3 separate regions of the Homo sapiens genome follow, and all the other regions are linked to region 1. Evidence: promoter capture Hi-C in human tissues and cell types (Jung and others, 2019). All regions are on one chromosome and are shown on one strand. The core of a region is centred on a gene start or on the middle of the fragment in contact, and the rest is flanking DNA. Distances in the headings are between cores, read along the strand shown. Region 1 holds the start of NAGA (alpha-N-acetylgalactosaminidase). Region 2 has its middle 35 kb from the start of LINC01315. Region 3 overlaps XRCC6 (X-ray repair cross complementing 6).

Region 1 (3,107 bases), core at 336-2,835:
GATCACGAGGTCAAGAGATCAAGACCATCCTGGCCAACATGGTGAAACCCCATCTCTACTAAAAATACAAAAATTAGCTGGGCATGGTGGCGTGCGCCTGTAGTCCCAACTACTTGGGAGGCTGAGGCAGGAGAATCGCTTGAACCTGGGCGGCGGAGGTTGCAGTGAGCAGAGATCGCGCCACTGCACTCCAGCCTGGTGACAGAGGGAGACTCTGTCTCAAAAGAAAAAAAAAAAGAAAAAAAAGTAACTACAAATATTACTGGAAACATCCCCCACCTTTCTGTGTCGGGCCTGGCCATAAAGGAATTCTCTGATCTACCTTGCCTGATACTAGGTCATAAGACTCTCATTCCAGAAGGGGTCCTGCCCTCCTCCCAGCAGGAGGGAATGCCACACAGAGAGAACAAGAAGAATCCGAATCTGAACAGACATTGCTGGGTTTCCACACTCAGCTATTAACATTAAATCATTCCCTTTTGTCTAATCGCGTTTATACACAGTTGTCCATTCCTTATTCCTTTTTTTTTTTTTCTGTTGCCCGGGCTGGAGTACAGTGACACAATCACAGCTCACTGCAACCTCGACCTCCTGGACTCAAGCAATCCTCCCACCTCAGCCTCCCGAGTAGCTGGGACCACAGGCACCTGCCTGGCTTTTTAATTTTTTGTAGAGACAGGGTCTCACTATGTTGCCCAGACTGTCCTTAAATGTCTGGCCTCAAGCGATCCCCCTGCCTCAGCCTTCCAAAGTGCTGGGATTACAGGCATGAGCCACCAGACCCGGCCAGGGCTGTCCATTCTTCATCAAACCGAGACATAAAAATAAAGATTTCCCTGAGTATTTGTGTCTTCATTCCTGAAGGCTCTCAAGTCACATAAAACATTGAGTAAATCAATCTATTATGCTTTTCTCTTGCTAACCTATATTTTATTTGTAGGAGTGTCCGCTGTGACCTTTGGGATGAGTAAGGGAAAATATCACACCTTTCTGCCCCTACAATGCCCAGAACAAAGCATTTGGCACTTAGCAGTTTCTCAATAAATACTTGATGAATGAATGAAGAAGGAAGTAGCCCAGTCTGTGCGAGTAGTCCCTGAGCGTCAGGCGGGGAAGGAGAGCCGGCTGCCTTTGCGGGAGCTGTGACCGCCTGCTTTGGTGCCTCCCACGCACCCTCCTTGTAGAGACGATTAATCCCAGACTTCCATTTTCCTAGCAGCTCACTAGGCGGGCCTTGCTTCAGAGCAGTCTCTCATTTCCTCTGCACAAAGCCCTCAACCGTCCTCTGCACGGCCGCTTACTGAGCGCCCACGGTGAGCCTGGCACGATCCTTGCCCTCTTGGTCCCCACAGAGGTGGAAGGACAGGCCTCGCGGGGTCCGGGCCACGAAGGACAGCCCCGAGTCCGTTCTGCCAATGCCTGCCTCGCTAGCACGCAGGGCGGGAGCCCAGTGGGGAAGGGCTTAGGGAGGCTGGGAGGCCGGACCCATATGGGCGGGGCACAGCGTTGCTAGGGGGGATTCTGATAGGTTGCGCGAAGGGTTGCCTTCGTGAGGCCCCGCCCTCACTGGAACGCTTCGGACTTATCAGGTTACCGGATTCGAGTCAGAAGCGGCGGCAGGTCTGAACGCTTCGGTAGGATAAGTGCGGTGGGAGGGGGCTCTGCGGTTTTGGGGAGCCCAGGGCGGGAACCCGGACCCGGCTGGAAGTCCGGAGCCTGGCCGCAGCCCCGCCCCTCCGCTCTTTCTTGGTGACCTTAAGCCAGTGGCTGCCTTTTTCTGAGCCCGGGCGGGGCCGAAGGCGGCCCGTAGGCCCTCGGGACTCCCAGCACTGCAGAGGGTGTGAGGTCTGACATCCAAGACACGTTGTTTCGTATTTCTGAAGGAAGAACTGAAGCTCCGGGAAGTGATGGCTGGGGATGGGGCGGGCAACTTGGGGACCGAGTGTACGATCCACGCCTAAGGTTGAGGGCGGCCGAGCTAGCCAGGCAGCCGTGACCCCAGTGCTTTTCAGACGTTTCTTAGCTTCCAGAGCCCAACACATACAGCTGATACACGCAGACCAGATCTGGTCAGGTCCTCGGAAGCTGAGTCCAGAGCGATGCTGCTGAAGACAGGTACCTACACCGGCTGGGGTGGCTTGGAAGGGTAGGGGTGAGTGCTACAAGGAGTGCTTTGGCCCTTCTTCCCTAATGTGGGTATGTGGAGAGACAGGTTCCTCTCTCTTTTACTTAGAGCTGGGCAGGAAGGGAGGAGATGCTTCCCCATACGGGAATCATTTCTCCTTCAAAGGGGCCCTTCCTTTCTCACTTCCTCTCCCTCAAGCACAGAGGCCCTAACTGATGGATATCAGCATGTGCGGAGAACCGCCTGTACAGTCCCTACAGTAACTCCATATTACAGATAAGGAAACTGAGGCCCGAGGGGGAAAGGTCTCACTTAGGTGAGCTGATTGGGTGCCCATCCTGGCTGGCTTACTTCTTAAGCCTCTCTGAGGCCTCTTGAGGGTCTGTGGTAGAGAGCAAAGAGCTCTGGACTGGGGCTCAGGAGACCTGGAGTCTGGCCAATGGTCCCGACTTAACGATTTTTCAACTTTACTGTGGTGTGAAAGCGACGCACATTCAGTAGAAACCACAGTACGTATACAACCTGTGTTTCAGTATTCAGTAAATTGCATGAAATATTCAACAATTTATTATAAAATAGGCTTTGTGTTAGATGATTTTGGCCAGCTGTAGGCTAATGTGCGTTGTCGCACTTTTTTTTTTTTTTTTTTTTTGAGACGGAGTCTCACTCTGTCACCCAGGCTGGAGTGGAGTAGAGTGGCGCGATCTCGGCTCACTGCAACCTCCATCTCCCAGGTTCAAGCAAGTCTCCTGCTCAGCCTCCTAAGTAGCTGGGATTACAGGCACTCACCACCTCACCCCGGTATTTTTTTGTAGTTTTAGTAGAGACAGGGTTTCACCATATTGCCCAAGCTGGTCTTGAACCCCTGACTTACGGTGATCCGCCCACCTCGGCCTCCCAAAGTGCTGGAATTACAGGAGTGAGCCACCGTGCCTGGCCTGTCCACATTTTTAAGGTAGGCTAGGCTCAGCTATGATGTTTG
Region 2 (3,065 bases), core at 110-2,609, 260 kb before region 1:
GTGCCAGCCATGGGAGGTGTGCGGGGAGAGCATCCCAAGTGGGACTCCTTGCTTTCTTGTCTGTTTCCCCACCCCTCTTGCCTGGTGGGGGCCAGCACAAAACTGGGATCTTTGCTGGGGCTGAGCTGATGTGGGCAGGGCCCCGGGAGCAGGAATGGTCTCGGATGTCTCTGTGGAGCCCAGGTCCCAGGAGCGTATGCAGAACGAAAGTCAGGCTGGGCTCCGGGCCCAGAGGGTGTACAGCTCTGGATACTGTAGGCAGCCAGGGCCTGAGACACGGGATGGGGTGTGGAGTCTTGGGTCCTGGTTCATCCTGAGGCCCTGCTAGATCCATCCATTGCTGAGGTCCAGAGCAAGGTTCCCTTCCGACAACTCACACAAAGGACTAAAAGTCCCATGGGACGGACAGACAGGACTGAGGAGCCCACGTGCTTGGGGCCAGATCCTTCCCCACTTAGACTAGGCTGTGAGACTACACTCAGGCAAGGCCCTGAATTTGAGCCTCAGCGTCCTCATCTGTAAAATGGGGATGACTATTCCACCCTTGTGAGGCTGCTTAGAGAATTAGATGTGATAGTCTCAGTGCAGCGCCTGGCTCATGACAGGCGCCAGTGTGTCTGCCACACTGTTGTTCTCGGCATGTGCCGAGTGTGTAAGGGCTGGAGCGGTTGTTGACTCGGAACCACCTCCCTGCAGCCTAGCCTGTTCCCTGCTCTGCCTCCAGCTCCTAGAACAGTGGCTGCAGCACACAGTTGCTGTTTGTTGACTGACTGAGTGAACTGGCTGCTTGAGTGAGCAGCCCCCAGGTGATGGGGAGGACAGGGCACAGGGGACTGAGTTGTGCCCAGGGGCTGACCATGGGCATCCAGCCATCTAGCTGCTTCTTGACTCCTCATTGGGGTACCCCTGGGACACCAAACCTCCTAGAGCCTCAGTGTACTCCTCTGTAAAATGGAGCCAATGATGATTCTGACCCCGGGCCCTGTCCCTAGGTTGTTGGCAGACTCATGAGAAAATGATATTAAAGGGCCGTGAGGACAGCTGAGCCTACAAATTGTTGGTGAGGTTGCCACCAGTCTGATTTCCCAAGGCCACCCAAGGTCCCAGGGAGGAGGGTGAGATGTTCAGGCTCTGGACAGGGAACCAGGCCTCTCCCTGCTTCCAGCTGCCCATGGTGTGAGGGGCACCTGGCCATGCAGCCCCTCTGACACCAAGGGTACCATTATGTTGAGTCACCTTTATCTGGTGGCTCATCTGGAACCTTGTGAGCCTGTTCCCACAGGAGTCTGCTAAACTCCAGCCCCAGGCAGGGGCCACCCGTTGGCCTGGGTTCCCACTGCGCTTGTGCCTATGGTCCTGTGTCCCAGTGGCACCTGGAGGAGCCATCGTGGTGGGCCGGTGCTCCTCCTAGAGGGAAGCCCTAGGCCAGGCCTGGCACATAGTGGGTGAGCAGGTTGGGCACCTGGAAGCTTGGGCTAGGCCTGCCTTCTATCGCCTTCCTCTGTGTGTGGCTGTGGGCAGTGAGTTACAGGCTTAGTACCTACTGCGTGGAGCAGTAGGCATACTGTGTGTTCTGGTCTCTGAATTGCTCTCCACTTTGTGGCGAGGGGCAAGCTGGCTCACAGGGGCCTGATATGAGGGTTTTTACACCTTTACCCCTTTGCCTCTGAGGCAGGTGGGGACCACTGGTTCCTTACCGAAACTGAGGCTCAAAGAGGGCCAAGGTGTGGTGGAAGCCAGATACTTTTCTGCTTCTGTGTGACTTGCGTTCATGGTGCAGTGGCTGTCAGCCAGGCTTGTGCACAGCCCTGGTGCACCGTCCTCTAAAGCCTCTGCACAGCGAGACAGCTCCTGCCACTGTCTACACACAGCCCTGGTGCACCATCCTCTAAAGCTTCTGCACAGCGAGGCAGCTCCTGCCACTGTCTACACACAGCCCTGGTGCACCATCCTCTAAAGCCTCTGCACAGTGAGGCACCTCCTGCCACTGTCTACACACAGCCCTGGTGCACCATCCCCTAAAGCCTCTGCACAGCGAGGCAGCTCCTGCCACTGCACACAGACTGGGTGCACCGTCCTCTAAAGCCTCTGCACAGTGGGGCAGCTCCTGCCATTGCATTTTGCCAATGCAAAAACAGAGATTAAGAGAGGCAGAGTGACGCAGCCAGGCTTTTGTTTTTACTTTTTCTTGGAGGTATAACTTAATACAGAAAAGTGCACACTTCTTAAGTGTACAGCTATAGGTAGCTGTGCAGCCTCCATCCAGATCCAGACCTAGAACATCCCCAGTGCCCCTGGAGGCTCCCCCGTGCTCCTCCCAGTCAACCCCCACCTGCTGCCAGCAGCTGCCCCCACTCCTGGCATCTGACAGTAGAGGCTGGCCTTGTCCATCTCTGCACTTTATAGAAACAGAGCCGCACAGCATGGTCCCTTTCCTGTAGCATCGTGTTTGCCCATGCAGTTGCTTTATCAGAAATTGGCTGTGCGGGGCACGGTGGCTCATGCCTGTAATCCCAGCACTTTGGGAGGCTGAGGCAGGCAGATCACTTGAGGTCAGGAGTTTGAGACCAGCCTGGCCAATATGGTGAAACCCCATCTCTACTAAAATTGCAAAAATTAGCAGGGAGGCTGAGGCAGGAGAATTGCTTGAGCCCGGGAGGCGGAGGTTGCAGTGAGCCGAGATGGTACCACTACACTCCAGCCTAGGCAACAACAGAGCGAGACTCCGCCTCAAAAAAAGAAAGAAAGAAAGAAATTGGCTGAACTGGTATTTGAACTCTCCCGCTCACTCTCCCCGTCGAACCCAGAGTGCTGCCCTTGCTTACATTGCCATCACCCTTGGAATGAGACCGAGATCCTCCCCCTGGCTGTTCCTGCTCCAGCTCCTGCACTGGTCACTACACTCCAGCCACATAGAGGGACCTTTTGTTCTCAAAAGCCCTGAGCTGCTTCCTACCTCAGGGCCTTTGCACTTGCTGTTCCGACCTCCCAAGCTTCTCCCTGCCTGGCTAATACCCTCAGAGCCCAGCTGGAGTATCACCTCCTCTGCCAGGCAGGGCCTTCCT
Region 3 (3,121 bases), core at 298-2,797, 410 kb after region 1:
TATGTGAGAGGGAATGACTTGAATTACTTAATCATTCTTTTAAGCCTTTAACAATTTACACTAGATTTATTTACTTTTGCTCATTGTGGAATAACAAACACAATCAAGGAGAAGGGCGAATAAGAATCCTGCTATTTTTTCAAATTTGTTCAACCAACTAATCTGGCTAAGTACAGCACAACAGAGAAACCACAAAATCCCAGAGTCTCCAACATAATAAAAGGTTCCATTCTCTATATGGCTTTCAAAAAACTATTAATAACAAGTAGTAATCTGTCAGTTTGCTGAAAAGAGTAGTGCCATTCTCTTGGCCTATGCCCAAGCTGTTTCTAATAAGATTTTCAACTCAGGAGGCAGTTCCAGAAAGCCTGAGATTGACTCACCTGTATGTGAAGCGAAGCTTCTCAACGATAGCCTTCATCTTGCCCACCTGCTCTGGAGTTGCCATGATTTTTTCAGTAAAGGGCATCTTCCTTTTATCATCAGCAAAGGGTAAAAAGACCAGCTGGAAGCCTGAAGAAAGGAGATAAATTTTCTTTGATTTGACTTCAAGTGTTGCAGTCACTTGTTTCTCAGCTCCAAATTCTTCCTTTTATGTCCTGTGGTGCTGGGGCTGGGGCCCCGTAGGCCCCATTTCTTGAACTCCACCAGCTGGTTTTTGTTATCATCTGCCTAACAGACTCCCTCTGCAGTTTCCAGAAGACTGCAAGGGAGGAGGGGTGCCCCTTCCTGTATACAGTAGATCCCTTATCCCTGGGGAATATGTTTGAAGAACCCGGGAGGATACCTGAAACCTCGGACAGCACCAAACCTGACTGCCGTCAATTGAAACATGTTTGTCCATGTCATACGTTCATAAATTTAATATTTAATGTTTTTTTCCATCTTTTTTTTTTTTTGAGATGGAGTTTCACTCTTGTCGCCCAGGCTGGAGTACAGTGGGCAATCTCGGCTCGCTGCAACCTCCGCCTCCCAGGTTCAAGCGGTTCTCCTGCCTCAGCCTCCTGAATAGCTGGGATTACAGGCGCCACCACGCCCGGCTAATTTTTGTACTTTCGGTAAAGATGGGGTTTCGCCATGTTGGCCAGGCTGGTCTCAAACTCCTGACCTCAGGGGATCTGCCCACCTCGGCTTCCCAAAGTGCTGGGATTACAGACGTGAGGTACCGCGCCCAGCCTTCATCTTTTTTTTTTTTTTTTTGAGACAGGATCTTGCTATCACCCAGGCTGGAATGCAGTGGTGTGATCACAGCTTACTGTAGCCTCTACCTCTCCGGCTCAAGTAGCCTATCAAGTAGCTGGGACTACAAGTGAATGCCACCACACTTGGCTACTTTTTTTTATTTTTTTGCAGAGACAGAGTTTCACCATGTTGCTCAGGCTGGTCTCAAAACTCCTGGGCTCAGGCGATCCACCTGCCACAGCCTCCCAAAGTGCTAAGATTACAGGCATTAGCCACAGTGCCTGGCCTCCTTTTCTATTTTAACTAAGCACTTCTCATGTACTGTGGCAGTAACTTTTACAGTTTGAGGTGCAACAGGAAAACTAGCTTGGGCCGGACATGGTGGCTCACGTCGGTAAGCACAGCACTTTGGGAGGCTGAAGCAGGAGGATCACTTGAGCTCAGGAGTTCGAGACCAGCCTGGGCAACATAGTGAGACCTTGTCTCAATTTATGTAAAAAAAGAAGGGGGGGAAAAAACTATTTTTTTTTTTTTTGAGACAGAGTCTCGCTCTGTCACCCAGGCTGGAGTGCAGTGGCGCAATCTCAGCTCACTAACTCCACCTCCCGGGTTCACACCATTCTCCTGCCTCAGCCTCCCAAGTAGCTGGGACTACAGGAGCCTGCCACCACACCTGGCTAATTTTGTATTTTTAGTAGAGACGGTTTCACCGTGTTAGCCAGGATGGTCTCAATCTCCTGACATCGTGATCCGCCACCTTGGCATCCCAAAGTGCTGGGATTACAGGCGTGAGCCACCACGCCTGGCCACTAAGATGAATTTCTTTTTCCTTCTTAACAATTTTGTGGATAGAAGATTCCTTCTTACCATGTATCTTAGCAACCTCAGCATAAAAAAAAAAAAAAACTAAAATGAATTTTTTCCCTTAACAATTTTGTGGTTCGAAGATTCCTTCTTACCATATATCTTAGCAACCTTAGCATATATTTTTTTCCTCCTTAAAGTCAAGAACTCTCACCTTTTCATTTAAAGGAAGCACTTTATGACTTTCTCTTTAGTATATCCAAACTGCCAGCACCACTACACTTGTGCTTTGGGGCCGTTATTAAATAAGGGTGACCTGAACACAAGCACCGCAATACTGATTACCTTGACAGTCAATCTGATAACCAAGACAGCTACTAAGTGACTAACTGGTGGGTAGCATTTACAGTGTGGAGATGCTGAACAAACAGATGATTCCTGCCCCAGGTGGGATTGTGCTTTTAAGTTATTTCTAGAATTTTCCACTTAAAATTTTTGGACCATGGTTGACTATGGGTAACTGAAACTGCAGAAAGCAAAACTGTGGTTGCGGCCCTCCTGTATTTACTGTTCCTACCTGTATTGCCCCAGCAAAGACCCTTTACCTGGCGGCAGTTGGTTCCAGTCTCCAGCTTTTTTGATACATCCAGAGCTAGCCGGACAGTGCCTCCTCCCTGGAGGGCTAAGTCCCAGCTCCATGGGGGCCTTCTCTGAGCTTCACCCTCGCCCCTTTTTTCCTTACCCTCTACCACGTGATAAATAAAAGGAAACAGGTAAGAGTTATCAGGCTGATTTTAGTTCAGTTACTGGCTGGTTCTGGAAGGACTAAAAAATCTACGCCCTGTAACTAACTGCTGCTACCAGGTGAAAGCCTTTGCTGACAATGCTGACCACACTGAGCAAACAGGAAGAAGCAAATCCCTCACCTCTCCTCTGCCCTTTGGTCTCCCTCTAGCACCCACTATAGACACAGCCTGAGAGCCAGCTGTGAAAGATGAAATTAGGTTTGGATCATTTCAGCCTCAGTAGTGCAGAGCATAAAAGGGTGAATTTGGAGCTGAGATACAATAGCTTAGTAACTGAGCACTCCTGAGCATGCTGAGGATCAAAGTTAAAACTACAGTAACTCATCTCA

Evidence for each region. The method cuts DNA at HindIII sites, captures the fragments that hold promoters and counts their contacts. A contact is called where the count stands out against the background at its distance.
Region 2: a fragment that was not itself captured here is called in contact with the fragment with the promoter of NAGA in region 1 in 1 of the 25 tissues and cell types used here (dorsolateral prefrontal cortex).
Region 3: a fragment that was not itself captured here is called in contact with the fragment with the promoter of NAGA in region 1 in 1 of the 25 tissues and cell types used here (lymphoblastoid cells).

The regions. Positions count from the first base shown.
Region 1 is chr22:42,069,290-42,072,396 of GRCh38, reverse strand. NAGA (alpha-N-acetylgalactosaminidase) reads left to right here and starts at 1,585. Exons shown (of 9, transcript NM_000262.3): 1 at 1,585-2,115. The coding sequence starts at 2,100. RefSeq lists an enhancer at 1,275-1,324 and a silencer at 1,505-1,804. The HindIII fragment of the contact is 6,054 bases long and covers 1-3,068 here.
Region 2 is chr22:42,332,186-42,335,250 of GRCh38, reverse strand. It overlaps a transcript of TCF20 not described here. Among named protein-coding and RNA genes, the nearest start is that of LINC01315, 35 kb to the left of the region's middle. The HindIII fragment of the contact is 4,393 bases long and covers 1-3,065 here.
Region 3 is chr22:41,654,295-41,657,415 of GRCh38, reverse strand. It overlaps XRCC6 (X-ray repair cross complementing 6), which reads right to left. Exons shown (of 13, transcript NM_001469.5): 10 at 384-513. Among named protein-coding and RNA genes, the nearest start is that of SNU13, 33 kb to the left of the region's middle. The HindIII fragment of the contact is 3,766 bases long and covers 1-3,121 here.